Regions from separate parts of the Homo sapiens genome. Here all the other regions are linked to region 2. Evidence: promoter capture Hi-C in 16 types of primary human blood cells and fetal thymus (Javierre and others, 2016). All regions are on one chromosome and are shown on one strand. The core of a region is centred on a gene start or on the middle of the fragment in contact, and the rest is flanking DNA. Distances in the headings are between cores, read along the strand shown.

Region 1 (4,729 bases), core at 135-2,634, 320 kb after region 2:
AGACCTAAGCCAAAGTCACCGTATTTCTGGGGAGATTGCTTACGGGACAAGCATCAGGCCTCAGATTTTCTCACAGAGTGGCCAGCTCCCTCCTTGTCATGGGGTGGGTGGGCCAGGCAGGCAGAGGACTTCATTTCCAGAGCCGAGAGGGCTTGGGTTGTCTGCTCACATGAGACTTGATTCCCCCTAACTGCCACCTTCCCCATGGTCCCTGCCTAAAGCTGGATGCGTATATGAAAGAGGCCTCGAGTGTTTATGCAGGAAGGAGAAGGAGGATGAGCTGTCATTACCCCTTCCCTGGGGCTAGATGGCCCAACTTCCTGAGGGGCCCTGAGTAACACAAACTCCCATCTTTGCTTTCTCTTCCTGTAGGTGTAGGAATGAAGCTAACTGACGTTGGCATAGCAACGCTGGCTAAAGGGTGAGTAGGAAAAAATGGAGTGTGCATCAATTAACACTGGGCTTACAGACACCTTCCAGGCAGACACTGTCAGGCTGAGGTGGGCAAAGTGAATTTCTTGTCCTAACTGTGGATGACGAATGTTCTTGGAATGAATTCATTTCTCTCACTTACATAAAATATTTATGGACTTTGTTCTCACAGGGGAGCACATTTGTTTCTTAACTTTGAAACAAATGAGAACTCTTGCAAACACATTTCAAGATTAATAACCAATAGGAGTACCACGGGGAGAAAATGCTGGCATTACTTGGATGCCTTTTAACTGGGAATATTCCGTTCTTTTACATTTAATATCTTCACTATTAAAAGCTTCTTTGAAAAAAAATTTTTTTTGCAATTGAATGCAGTGAATTCAATTTGTATATTTTAAATTAATTTTTCTCCAAAAAGTATTTTAGGCAGCTCACAGACCCCCATGATGATAATCATAGGAGGCAATGTCTCTGGCAGAGCTGTGATTAGTTACCTGTTTTTGATGATGGCTTTATTTTTCTAATACAGAGTGGTGCTTTGCTTAGTGTGAGGCACACACAGATGATGCTATGATCACATTTTACTGGGGCATCTTTTTAACAAGCTGCCCCTTCCCACTTCTTTACTTGACTGCCACTGAGGAGAAAGCCAGCCATTTGTTGTTCTTGGTGAAGATGCAATTCTGTGTTGGAACCACCATCGCCTTTGCCCACTCCTGCTCTTCCTACGTACTAAGACCATCTGTAAGGGGGAGGAAAAGAGAGCTCATGACTTTTGGAGGGGATGGCTTCTATTTCAAAATGTAGGTTTTATTAGTATGAGGTATCGTAAGGTCAACAGATCAGGAGATAGTTGCCATTGAAAAGCTAGTTTGTTACTTGCAGCTGCCAAGAGGGGGCACCAGGCCACCAGGGGCCATCTAAGAAGCAGCAGGGCCAGTTGGGAGGCAGAGGAAGTGAGGGGAAAATGCAGGCAAGAATATTATGGTTTATTCGGGAAGGAATAGGTGAGGGAGGATAAACAGTCCTAGGATTGGCTAATTTGACATTTTCCAGCAGTCTCTGGGACATAGGGCTGGCCCTAGTGTCTGGTACCTGCACTGGGGTGATTAGGGCAGGTGGACAGTGGCCCCAGTATGAGAGACCACAGAGGGGGTATTAGGGGTGTGGCTCTGGATTGGTTGGTTTGCATATATATGAAAGGCTCTCTGGAAGGTGATCATTTACTCTCTCTAGGAATATGGCAGCCCTGAGAGGAGTAAAGTCTCTCCAGGGCCAGTAAGGCACAAGATGTCAAAGCATCAGAAACACAGAAAATAAAGTGGTGGGATGAATCCAGCTTCCTTTCCCAAGGCTGAGAACAACTTATCCGTGGGAGCTTTCTGGTTACTTCAGACCATCAGTGTCAGCCACGATCCAACAAATATGCTAATTTTCAGCTTCAATAAAGGACAGAGAGAAGTAGAGGAATCTGAAAAAGTAGGAAGGGGATCGCTCTTTCTTTTAACCTCCAGGTCAGTAAGTCTGATTCATGAAGTTCTCGCCGATTGCACAAAGCTTCCAGTTGGGTTTTAGAACCAGAATGCGGTTTGGACCTTTTCCCTGGGATGGCTCAGTGATGATGAAGTTTTATGTTGGAACTGTCTCCAGGCTTCTCCCCTGTGCTCACCAGAGACCTGGCTGGCATACACTTCAGGGAATTGGGTATGTTCTTGGGCTTGTGAAGACAGCGCATTAGGAGGGATTATGATGTAGTGGGGAGGAAGGAACGAGGGATTTAGAGCGAGACCCAGTTCATACCCTGATGCTGCTGCTTCCATTTCTCCTGATAGTAGCCTCGCTTCTTGGCATCGTAGGAATTTGCCTAGCCTACCTGATGAGGGGGATGAACGTCTATTGCAGTTTCCCCATGATGGTACCATTTTATGCCTGATGTCCTCACATCCCATACGCTTTAGCATTGATCCTGAACAAGTGTACCCATTTAGAAGATAAATTATATGGTGCCCTATTTATGGAGGCTTCTGGACCCCAGAAGGATTTTCCAAACGGAGCCTTCCTTTCCAGGCTCCATGTGTTCTGCAGAACCTTGCAGATGCAAGCATCCGCCAGCCCTAGTTTGAATCCTGGCTTCTCGTCATACCAGCTGTGTGACTGTGGGCATGTGACTAAGTTCTTAAAGTCAGTGATGTACAGCATGGGGACACTCCGGCTTGCCCTGAGTATTCCCCCAGTTAATCTACACCTAGCCCCTGAAACTGGAAGTGAGCTAGATAAATATTAGTTTCCCTTCGCTCCTCATGTCTTAGCCTGACACCAGAGTAGGCAAATTTCGTGCTGTTATTTAGAACAACTCTCTACCAAAACAAAGAAGAAACCTGCCCAAGAAGTTTCAAAAATGAAGATGGTCATGATTATTGAAGACATCTTTTAAATTCAAGTCAACAGCTTCCAGGAACCCAGACCGACTGGGAGCTTCAAGTGGTACATTTTTTCCCCTCCTGATTTAAAAAGAAATCCAATCCTTTGGTTTTGTTCTCAGCTTTAATGTGACTTATCTGGCCCGGGACAGCTGCCCAAGACCCATTAGAAGCACTGACGGCTGGAGCCCAGTGCAGAATGCTGTCTATAAAGTATTACTTACTCATTGCCTTCCCACCCAAGGAGAGGCCAGGGAGCAGGAGCTGGGAGAGGAGGAGATTCTGAAGTGTTTGAGAGCTTTGGCAGGGATATTAGATCTTCTTGTCTTTTGTTTTTTAAAAACTTTTCTTTAAACGTTACCTTTTTAAGCCACAGTCTTTTTCCCAAAAGAAATATATCTTACAATCACAGTTTGAAAAACTGATGAAAAGGTAAAACTTCTCCAAACAGAGCATAAGAGGTGGTTGAGAGACCTCTTTAGAGGCTCCTGGGAACCCCTCTGGAGTGGAAACCAGTGATCAAGCCCGACCTCCTCACTTCACAGGTGAGGAGGCATGGGGCATGGGGCATGGGGCATGGGGCAGCCTGCTTGCTGGCAGGAGTCAAGAAGTCTTTCCTGCTTGAAGTCAGCACCCCAAAGTGAACGGCAGATCCTCAATGCTGGGAGGCGAGGCACAATTGAAAAAGTTCTCCAGTGAATGTCAAAGCTGCAAAAGGGAGATAACTCATGAGGACAGACTTGGAAAGGGCTCAAGTTCAAGGGCACTCTGCAGACAGGAAAGTCCAGGTGGGAGGCAAATGAGCTGGGGAAGAAAGGAAGGCGAGCATCGCAGACTGCAGACAGCAGGAGAGAAGATGGAGGAATAAGGGTTGATCGAGCAAGTTCTCTTGATTCTTAGCAAGCAACTGTGAGTGAGCTTAGTTCATTCATGATGCAAAGGGAGAGTCGCAAGTTCTATGGGGGGGCTGGTACCTGGCAGGGTTCAGCTGGGGGAACAGCACCACCATAAGAAGCAGTGCTCCGTGTGTCATTTAAAAAAAAAAATTCCCATATGTCTCAATCAGGACCATATATTTGGCTGCTGACACCCCAGTCATGCAACCTGTTTTGCTGTCTTGTTCAATGAAGTCAAAGGCTATGATCCTATTTCAGGAGTAATTACTCTAATCTCATAAAATAAAATAGAGAATTGTCATGACTTACTCATTTTAATTCAACTTTACTTCATTGTATGTTCCTTTTAACAGGAGTATGTCATATTTCTCTTGGGAGCCAGAGATATAATTATGTCTGGAAACACATCCCCTGTGCCTCAGCCACCTCAATCTTTTGGCAAATGTTGAGTACAAAAATTTCAGGTTACAAAGTATGGCAAGTAAGATTGTTTTGACATCCAGTAATCCATTTTCTAGATAGACCCAAGATACTAACCCGTTGAACAAATTTCTAATTGGAAATTACACAAGGAAAAAAGGCCTAATTTTATAACTGGAGATTTGGAAACGTAACCTAACCAACTCCAGACCGATCTAAAGCCATGCGTGCAGTGGAGCCGAACTGCAAACTCATGCTTCTCTCCAGCCAGTCGGGGAGTTCCCGGGGAGGCGACGAGATTGCAGTTCAACCACCAGAGGGCACCAGAACCAATACTTTGCCCTTTGTAGTCTCCCCTAAAAAGCCAATTTCCTGTTGCCAGATTGAAATAAAACAAAGAAAAGTACCATTAGCAGATTTCTTCCCTGGCAGTAAGCATTAGACCAAAATAAGATTAATATGGACAGCCGTAAAGGACACCCCTCGCAGTGGCTGCCAGCCAGCCTTGCATCTTTCTACCCTCGGAGGAAGGAACGACGAGGCTTAAGGATGTGTGGC
Region 2 (4,920 bases), core at 1,557-4,056:
CTGATACCTTGTGTTTTCCTCCCAGGGACAGGTACAAGAGGGTGTGACTGTGGGAAGGGACACACTAACAATAGGCAAGGGGCCCAGGTTGTTTCTTCTGTGAAGGTACCGGTCTGTGGCCTGTTAGGAACCGGCAGCACAGCAGGAGGTGAGCGGCTGGTGAGCCATTATTGCCTGAGCTCCGCCTCCTGTCAGATCAGCGGCAGCATTAGATTCTCATAGGAGCAGGAATCCTATCGTGAACTGCGCATGTGAGGGATCTAGGTTGCGTGCTCTGTATGGGAATCTAATGCCTGATCATGTGAGGTGGAACAGTTTCATCTTCCCCACCCCTGGTCCGTGGAAAAATTGTCTTCCATGAAACCATGAAACCGGTCCCTGGTCCCAGAAAGGTTGGGGTCTGCTGCCCTAATTCATGCACTAGAGTTTCATATGCTGACATGATCTCTGTGATCATAAATATGAATTAGATTAAATTTATCTTTGACTCCAGTACAATTTCCTCTTTTCTCTCTTTTTGGTAACTCCCAATTCAGGTGCATCTGCAATGCATTCTCACAATTCATTTCAATTTAGTAAATGATGGCTGAGTGTCTCCCCATTCAAGGCACTGTGTTAGACACTGGGACAGAAAACTAAATAAGACTTGATCCTGCAGCAGAAGAGACAGCCAGGCAGGTATCTAGAATTCAGTGTGTTGAATATGACAGTGTAAGTGCCTATGCTGCCACAGCCTCCTTCTGAGCAAACAGCCGGTTGGTTCCTTATGCAAAGGTCATCCAACGTAGAAACAAATATGCTGAATCTCCTGAGGAGACAGTGATTAATTTAGGCTAGAGGTCAGTGTGGGACCAATCAAGGTGACGTTGGAATTAATTTGGACTTGAGGAGCGTACAGTTTCATAAGGCAGAGAAACATATACTACAAAGAATGAGGTATATTTGTGAGGATTTGGAGCTGTGCCATTCCTTAGAGTATTAAAGTCATGAAAAAAAGGCTGGGCGCAGTGGCTCACGCCTGTAATCCCAGTACTTTGGGAGACCAAGGCGATCACAAGGTCAGAAGTTCGAGACCAGCCCGACCAATATGATGAAATCCTGTCTCTACTAAAAACACACAAAAAAATAGCCAGCATGGTGGAATGCGCCTGTAATCCCAGCTACTTGGGAGGCTGAGACAGAAGAATCCTTTGAATCCGGGAGGCAGAGGTTGCAGTGAGCAGAGATTGCGCCATTGCACTCCAGCCTGGGCAACAAGAGCGAAACTCTGTTTCAAAAAAAAAAAAAAAAGACTATGATTATCATGCATGGGGTTAGGGATGGGGGTGCAGGAGATGAGGTAAATTGGAGGTAGATTGGGGTCGGATTGGGAGGTGAATTTCTGCCTATTCTGATGAAGAGTCATCAGTGCTTCGCAGGCATGGCAGTGGCATTACAGATGTGTTTTGGAAGAAAATTCAGGAACAGGGAAGGGTTGTAGTTTGTAGCTGTCAGATGCAATGAGGCAGATTAAAAGCTAGACAATTTAGGCCAGTCGCGGTGGCTCATGCCTGTAATCCCAGCACTTCAGGAGGCTGAGGTGGTCAGAGTGCTTGAGTTCTGGAGTTCAAAATTAGCCTGGGCAACATTGTGAAACCCTGTCTCTACTAAAAACATACAAAAATCAGCTAGGCATAGTGGTGCACACCTATAGTCCTAGCTACTCGGGAGGCTGAGGTGGGAGGACCACTTGAGCCTGGGAGGCAGAGGTTGCAGTGAGCCGAGATCACGCCACTGCACTCCAGCCTGGATGACAGAGCGAGACCCTGTCTCAAAAAAAAAAAAAAAAAAAGAAAGAAAGAAAAAAAAAGAATGACCTTCTCTTTTAAGGCTGAACTCTATTCCATTGTATGTATGTTCCACATTGTGTTTCTCCATTCGTCTATCAGTGGACACTTAAGTTGCTTCCACAGTTTAGTTGTTAGAAATGTGGAAGTACAAGTATCTGTTTGAGTCCCTGTATTAGTCCGTTTTCACACTGCTATAAAGATACTGCCTGATATATTACCTGAGACTGGGCAATCTATAAACAAAAGAGGCTTAATTGACTCGCAGTTCCCCATGGCTGGGGAAGCCTCAGGAAACTTATGGTCATAGTGGAAGGCAAAGGGGAAGCAGGCACCTTCTTCACAAGGCGGCAGGAGAGAGTGTGAGTGAAGGGAAAGCCCCTTATAATACCATCGAATCTTGTGAGAACTTACTGTCATGAGAGCAACATGGGGGAAACCAGTTCCATGATCCAATCACCTCCTACCAGGTCCCTCCCTGGACTTGTGGGGATTACAATTCAAGGTGAGATTTGGGTGGGGACCCAGAGCCATGCCATATCAGTGCCTGCTTTCATTTCTTTTGGGAACATACTCTGAAGCATAATTGCTAGATCATATGGTAATTTTAGGGTTAAGTTTTTGAGGAACGTCATTACTGTTTTCTACAACAATGGCGCCATTTTACATTCCCACCAGCAATGTACAAGGATTCCAATTTCCCAACATCCTCACCAGTTGTTATTTTCTGTTCTGTTTATTTGGATATTAGCCATCCTAATGAGTGACAGTGAAATTTTACTTACATGAAGGATCTCATTCTCCACTGATACCCACGAAAACAAAGGGGACCATTCTGCACTTGGCTGAAGTGAGCATTTTCTCATCAGGAGAGGAGTAGCCCAGGGGATGTCCACTGGAGATAGGGTGGGCGCCCTCCACTCCATCTTCCCTTCTTGGAAACTTGGAGAATTTCTTGTGTTATTCTTGGGACTGTGATGTGTATAAATAGAATGGGATGAGGGAAAAAGAAAAGGTTGAGAGCCAGTTCAGAAAGATCCTTGTAATATATTTTGTTGATCTTACTTTTTCAAACTTGTACAGCTTGATGGCTGTGAGCAAATATTTCCACTAGGAATCTGTTGACATTTCCACCACTCTTCTCTTCTTTTTCTGTTCTGTTTTTTTTTTCTGCCTAGTCTTTCAGTGTCAATCTTGTCTTAATTTCAGCATGCATTCTGTCCTCATGCATAAATTAGGTATGGTTTTCTGCTCTTTATTCGAAATTGCCTATTTCTATTGTAAATTACACCAATCATAATTTCCAGTTTACCGCTTTTCTCCAGACATTTTTGCTTTTAATACAAATTCATAAATTAAAAGTCAACTACTCTCACTCCCAAAGATTAAAAAGATAAAAGCCTGTAATTTGGTGGACACCGATCATCAAATATGCATGTTACACTGAAGAACTGGCTTTGCAATTCTGCAGCTGTACTCTTGGGTTGGTGATGAAGAAGACAGTTATAGGGGATCCCGAGCTTTCAGCATCTCAGTAGTGCCAGTACATCTGGAATCCAAGACAAAATGTGAATGCAGGCATCATGAAGCAGAATTCGAGCTGTGCGGTAATCAGCCAGATGATCTGCAACACACAGATGCTAGCTTTTTTTTAGATAACCACCAAAATAGAAACACAAATTTTACACTCAAAGAACACTCAGGGCCCTTAGTGGAGAAATAGCTGCATCGTGCCAGTTATGAATTCTGTTGTTTTTGGTGGTCACAATTTATCATAGCCCCACTTAACCATGATTTCACTTTCCATGGTTTCAGTTACCTTCCGTTAACTAAGGTCCAAAAATATTAAATGGAAAATTCCAGAAATAAGCAATTCATAAGCTTTAAGTTGCACCTGCCATTCTGAGTAGTGTGATGAAGCCTTGCACCTGCGGTGGGATTCCTCCCTTTGTCCAGCATCTCCATGCCATAGATGTCCCCACTCATGAGTCACATCGGAGCCCTCTCAGTTACCACATCGGCTGTCTCTGTATTGCAGTGCTTGGGTTCAAGTCATTCTTATTTCACTTCATGATGGCCCCATAGCGCAAGAATACTGATGCTGACCGGGCGTAGTGGCTCACACCTGTAATCCCAGAACTCTGGGAGGCCGAGGTGGGTGGATCACCTGAGGACAGGAGTTCAAGACAAGCCTGGCCAACGTGGTGAAATCCCATCTCTACTAAAAATAGAAAAATTAGCCAGGGATGGTGGTGCATACCTGTAATCCCAGCTATTTGGGAGGCTGAGGTAGGAGAATCCCTTGAGCCCAGAAGGCAGAGGTTGCTGTGAGCTGAGATCGTGCCACTGCACTCCAGCCCGGGCGATAGAGCGAGACTCTGTGTCAAAACAAAACAAAACAAAAAAATTAGCCAGGCATGGTGGCATGCGCCTGTAATCCTAGCTTTGCGGGAGGCTGAGGCAGGAGAATTGCTTGAACCTGGAAGGTGGAGGTTGCAATGAGCCGAGATCACACCACTGCACTCCAGCCTAGGCGACAGAGCGAGACTGTCTCTGAAAAAAAATAAATAAATAGCCGGGCGTGGTGGCTCACGCCTGTAATCCCAGCACTTTGGGAGGCCGAGGCGGATGGATCACGAGGTCAGGAGATCGAAACCATCCTGGCTAACATGGCGAAACCCTGTCTCTACTAAAAATACAAAAAAATAGCCAGGCGTGGTGGCGGGCGCCTGTAGTCCCAGCTACCCGGGAGGCTGAGGCAGGAGAATGCCGTGAACCTGGGAGGCAGAGCTGGCGGTGAGCCAAGACCCCGCCACTGCACTCAAGCCTGGGCAACAGAGCGAGACTCTGTCTCAAAAATAAATAAATAAATAAATATATAAATATATAAAATAAAATTATGAAATCTGCAGTGGGGCCAGGTGTGGTGGATCATCCAAAGAAGGGTGGACAAGGGCTTAAATTGTTAGAAAACTCACTTGAAATGGGAGGTGTGAAAGTAAATATTTGCAAAGATAGATGATATTCCACAGCAGCCTGAATGGAGAGTGACATTTGCTCAGAAAGAATCCCGGATTATAAATATGACTAACAG
Region 3 (4,417 bases), core at 1,212-3,711, 270 kb before region 2:
AAGTAGAAGAAAAAACTCCAGTTGCTGAGGCAAAGCCCTGGGGTTGGATTCCAATCAGTGCCAACAGCATCATAGCAGTTGCTGAGTTGTTATTCTGGGGTTTAGGAAGAGGATGTCTGTGACTACAGTAAGAAAGGGGGGCCTATTCCATCTCCCGGGCCTTACCAGCCTCCACTTCAGGCTCATCTTGTTTCTGTCATGATTTTGTGCTTCCGACTCTTAAAATTGTTCTGCATTTTGTTCCCTTTTATTTGCCCACTGTCTTTAAACAACTCGACCAGACAACTTGAACAAAAGCTATGACTGAACAGGGATCATGAAAAGTGGGGGTCCTCTACTTCCACTATGAATGGAAAAGTATAGCACGCTTCCTTCCCTTTGCATAGTGGTCGTTTTTCAAAAGGTTCTTGCAGATGTTGTCTCAATTCCTTCTGTAACGAAACTGCAAGGCAGGGACAGACACTGTTAATAATAAGTAGTCAGGGTGCAGCCTCTGGGGTCAGACTGCCTGATTGAAATCTCAGCTCTGCCATTTATGAGCTGTGTGATCTTGGGGAACTCAACCCCTCTGAGCCTCATTTTTCTCAACTATAAAATGGGATACTAACAATATCTACTTGGAAAGATTGTTTAGTATCTATTTCTATGAGTTTTGTGTATTAAATGAAACAATTCTGTTTGGCACATGGCAAGCACTTTACAGGTAGGAAAACTGAGGTTCAACTAAAGTGATTTGCTTAAAGATTCAGAATCTGGTTTTCTAACTTCCAATTCTACTCTACCTCAAAGTATAGGTTTTGTGGAGCTCAAAGCAGGTAAGCGGCTTGTGGCATTAAATAAAAATTAATGTAAAATTATGAAACAGAACAAAATATATAGATCAGAGAAAAGAAACCCAAGGAATGGCGATGTAACACAGAAAAGAGCCAGGAAGGTAATGAGAGAAAAAGAATAGAGCTAGGCAGAGGGGAATCATGGCTGCCAGAAGCATGAAGAGCCTGAAGCTGTCATTTTCCAGAAAAGGAAACTGAGGCATGGGGCAGTCACATGCAACTCCAGCATACAGGGATGCAGCAATGTGGAAGGAAATGCATCCCCAGAATGCCAGAGAACTTTCTCATTCTGGTGATTCAGCCTCCCAAGTTCCTGGGGAAATTCTCTGGAAGGACTTTGGCATCTTCCCACTGGCTGCCCATCACTGCAGTCAGATAAGCACCACCAGTTCAGCGAGGAAAGCACACATCACAATGTGTTCTTCTTGCTTTTGTTTTATTTTAATCCCTCTAGGAACAGGAGACAGATAACCTTTCAATAATCTGAAATTCCAATAAAAAGAAACTCTCTCTGAAAAGTACACAGTGTTTGGGAAGGCTTTAGTATTTAGTAGACTTTAAAGATTTTCATCAGCCCTCCAATTTCTCTGTGTGCTTTGGAGGCATTGAGGGGAGTAATATTAGCTGAATAAAAGGTCACCACCACAAGAGTTGTTTTTAGCTAAATAAATTTGACATGGCAGGGTTGAAAGCTCTAGATAGATATTAAATTGCTGGTCATACTTGTGAGCAGGTGCAACTCTCATTTCCCACACCCCCAGGCAGCAGGGGAAGCTCTTTCACTCTATGATGGCTTGTAAATTTTTTTCCTCTCTGTTTTTACTCTTTTTCTACATTCTTGTCCTCATTTCCTCTATGATGCATTTCAAGCTTCACCTGGCTTTGCAACTATAAACATTTCCACTTAAATGCTGTGTTGCTGGTTCCCAAACTTGAATAGAATGATCTCAGGGCCTTTGGAGACACTGATTGCTGGGCCCCAGCCCCAGATTTTCTGATGCAAGACGTCTGCATGGGAACTGAGAACCAGTGTTTCTAACAAGCTCCCAGGTGATGCTGTTGCGCATAGTCCAGGAGCCACACTAGGAGAATGGCTGGCTTAGATCACCCTCCCTTGGCTGCACCCTGGACCCTGTCCTAGCCAAGGCCAGCAAATCACTCTGCACTTTTGTCTTCCTGTGGTTCCAAGGAGACTTTCCTCGTCAATATTGTAGCACTGCATTCAAGACCCAAAGATGCACCAATGAAGCTTCCATGGGGGTGCTGTGGAAGTCAGCTTGAGAGCTGAGCAATGCCAGGGGCACTAAGTCTTGGGCATCTCATCCCAAAGCCATCCCGGAAAGCACCCTGCTTGTTCTTTACTCCCAAGGCAGGTGTAGATTCCACGTTAGTCCTTAGGTTTGCGATATCTCTGGCTGGCCCCCAGGGTTGGCTTTGATCAGAGGCCCTGGAACCTGGAGCTGAGCAGTTCTCCCAGCCATCCACTGACCCAGGAATGCCAGAGACCTCCACACGGATCTCCCTCACCAGAGAGCTAGCACTGTCCCTTAGCTGACGGTGGGAGGATCCAGCAGGACATTTGTCTGATGCATTGGGTCTTAAGGATCCAGGAATTTTGAAGTCCAGTCTGACCAGCAGTCCTTACCTTAGAAATTGAAAAATAAATAAAACATAAGATTCATTTCAAGTTCCTCAGAAAGAAAGCAGTGAGAATCACTGAAAAAAAAAATACTGTTTTCCATTGAAAATGATAGATTAGATTAGAAATATTAGATGTATTTCTTAAAGGATTAAGTGAAAACCTTACTTGGGCATTCTAAATTCCTTAGTAGGCTGGTCATTTAAAAGGAAGCAATGAAGGCTCTTTGACTCTTCTACTTCACAGTCTGACAAAATCTGCAGTTTTCCTAGGAGGCTTCCGGTGTGTTCAAGAAGGCAGCGGGGCCGACACTGGTCTCTTACGTGCTGCCCTCTCGTGGTCACCCAAACACATGCAGCTAAAGCTTTCTTCCGATGCCGCTCATCTATTTGTTCAAATCCACAGGAACAGAGCCCAGGATAAAGGCGGACAGGTGATGGAGGTTGGCAACAGCACAGCTGACTCCACGGGTCTGAAACTATTGCTATGGCTGGCACTTCGTCAATGTGTGGGGTTCAGAGGAGGTCAAAAAAAATCATAGAGGCAAGAAACAGTGATTATTCTTTAGACTTTGTTAAGAGGAAATTTGGAAAGAAAACGTGTGTGTGTGTGTGTGTGTGTGTGTGTGTGTGTGTGTGTGTGTGTGTGTGTGTTATGCATATGAACACAGAGGTGGAGAGGGAGACAAACAGAGGAGAGATAATCTGATAGAGAGATTTTGTTCCAGTGCACTGCCCACGTGGTCTGGTAGGAAGAGCAGGTGGGTGAACTCGGGCAGGAGACAACACAGTTGCCTCACTACAAAATGATGTCCTTGAATAGATTATCTCTAAAGTCCCTTCCCATCCCAATTACGATTCTACTTAAAACAAAACAGAAAAGAAACCCCTTTCTTTCCCCGTGCTCATTTCACGCACCCGAGCTGATGGTCCTGGCTGCCCTTCTGCCTGCCTGCTCTCTTGCTTCTCTTTCCCTGTTTTCTAACAAAGAACTCCTTATGCCGTCACTTTGGCTTACATACATGCTGCCTTCTTTTTGAATCCATGGGATTTTCAATATGATGTACTAAAAGTTTCATTTTTCTTTTTGAGTCTCAGTCAAGGGTATTCCAATTGTCTTGTCTCTGAATTTTTTTTCCTTCTTTTCATGATCCCCTAAAACTTTCATGTGTATCTTACCCTGTTCTTTGTTGCTGGGAAAGATAAGTTCCTGGCCGAAAGCTGTCAGTGTCGGTCTTCAGCACAGAGCCTGTCTTTTAGGTGGGAAATACACCACGGTTATTCATTCCATTAATCTGCATATTGGCTTAGAGCGGCGATTCTCAAAGTGTGATCTGGGTACCCTCCAGGAGTTCCTGAAAGACTTCCAGGGAATCCATAAGGTCTACACTATTTTCAGAATAAAACCAAGATGCTTGCTTTTTTCCCTTCTCATTCCTTTATGAGTGAGTGTATGCTGGAGTTTTCCAGAAGCTACATGATATGTGATACTGCAACAGACTGACAGCAGTGGCGGATGTAAGATCAGCTATGTCTTCTATTTAGCCAGCTATTAAAGAGATTTCTGAAACTGTAGCACAATGACAGTCTTCTCGCTAGCATTTTTTGTTTTGAAAATATATGCCCTACCCTGAGCTTAAAAAAAAAATAAAAAAGAGGCCAGGCGCAGTGGGTCATACCTGTAATCCCAGCACTTTTGGGAGGCTGAGGCGGGCTGATCACCTGAGATCAGGAGTTCAAGACCAACCTGGCCAACATGGCAAAACCCTGTCTCCACTAAAAATATAAAAATTAGCCGGGTGTGGTGGCTCACACCTGTAATCCCAGCACTTTAGGAGGCCAAGGTGGGCAGATCACAAGGTCAGGAGTTTGAGACCAGCCTGACCAATATGGCGAAGCCCCGTCTCTACTAAAAATACAAAAACTAGCCAGGTGTGGTGGCACGT

What was found. The method cuts DNA at HindIII sites, captures the fragments that hold promoters and counts their contacts. A CHiCAGO score of 5 or more calls a contact.
Region 1: a contact is called between a fragment that was not itself captured here and the fragment with the promoter of LINC01926 in region 2, in 4 of 17 cell types (activated CD4 T cells, non-activated CD4 T cells, naive CD4 T cells and 1 more). The highest score is 6.3, in activated CD4 T cells.
Region 3: a fragment that was not itself captured here is called in contact with the fragment with the promoter of LINC01926 in region 2 in 8 of 17 cell types (naive CD4 T cells, total CD4 T cells, M2 macrophages and 5 more); the score reaches 8.5 in naive CD4 T cells.

What each region holds. Positions count from the first base shown.
Region 1 is chr18:58,493,741-58,498,469 of GRCh38, reverse strand. It overlaps ALPK2 (alpha kinase 2), which reads left to right. Exons shown (of 13, transcript NM_052947.4): 12 at 373-421. Among named protein-coding and RNA genes, the nearest start is that of MIR3591, 45 kb to the right of the region's middle. RefSeq lists a silencer at 4,452-4,501 and an enhancer at 4,278-4,729. The HindIII fragment of the contact is 1,220 bases long and covers 775-1,994 here.
Region 2 is chr18:58,811,766-58,816,685 of GRCh38, reverse strand. LINC01926 (long intergenic non-protein coding RNA 1926) reads right to left here and starts at 2,806. Exons shown (of 3, transcript NR_146904.1): 1 at 2,612-2,806. The HindIII fragment of the contact is 11,966 bases long and covers 1-3,709 here.
Region 3 is chr18:59,082,752-59,087,168 of GRCh38, reverse strand. No RefSeq gene overlaps it. Among named protein-coding and RNA genes, the nearest start is that of SEC11C, 55 kb to the left of the region's middle. The HindIII fragment of the contact is 754 bases long and covers 2,085-2,838 here.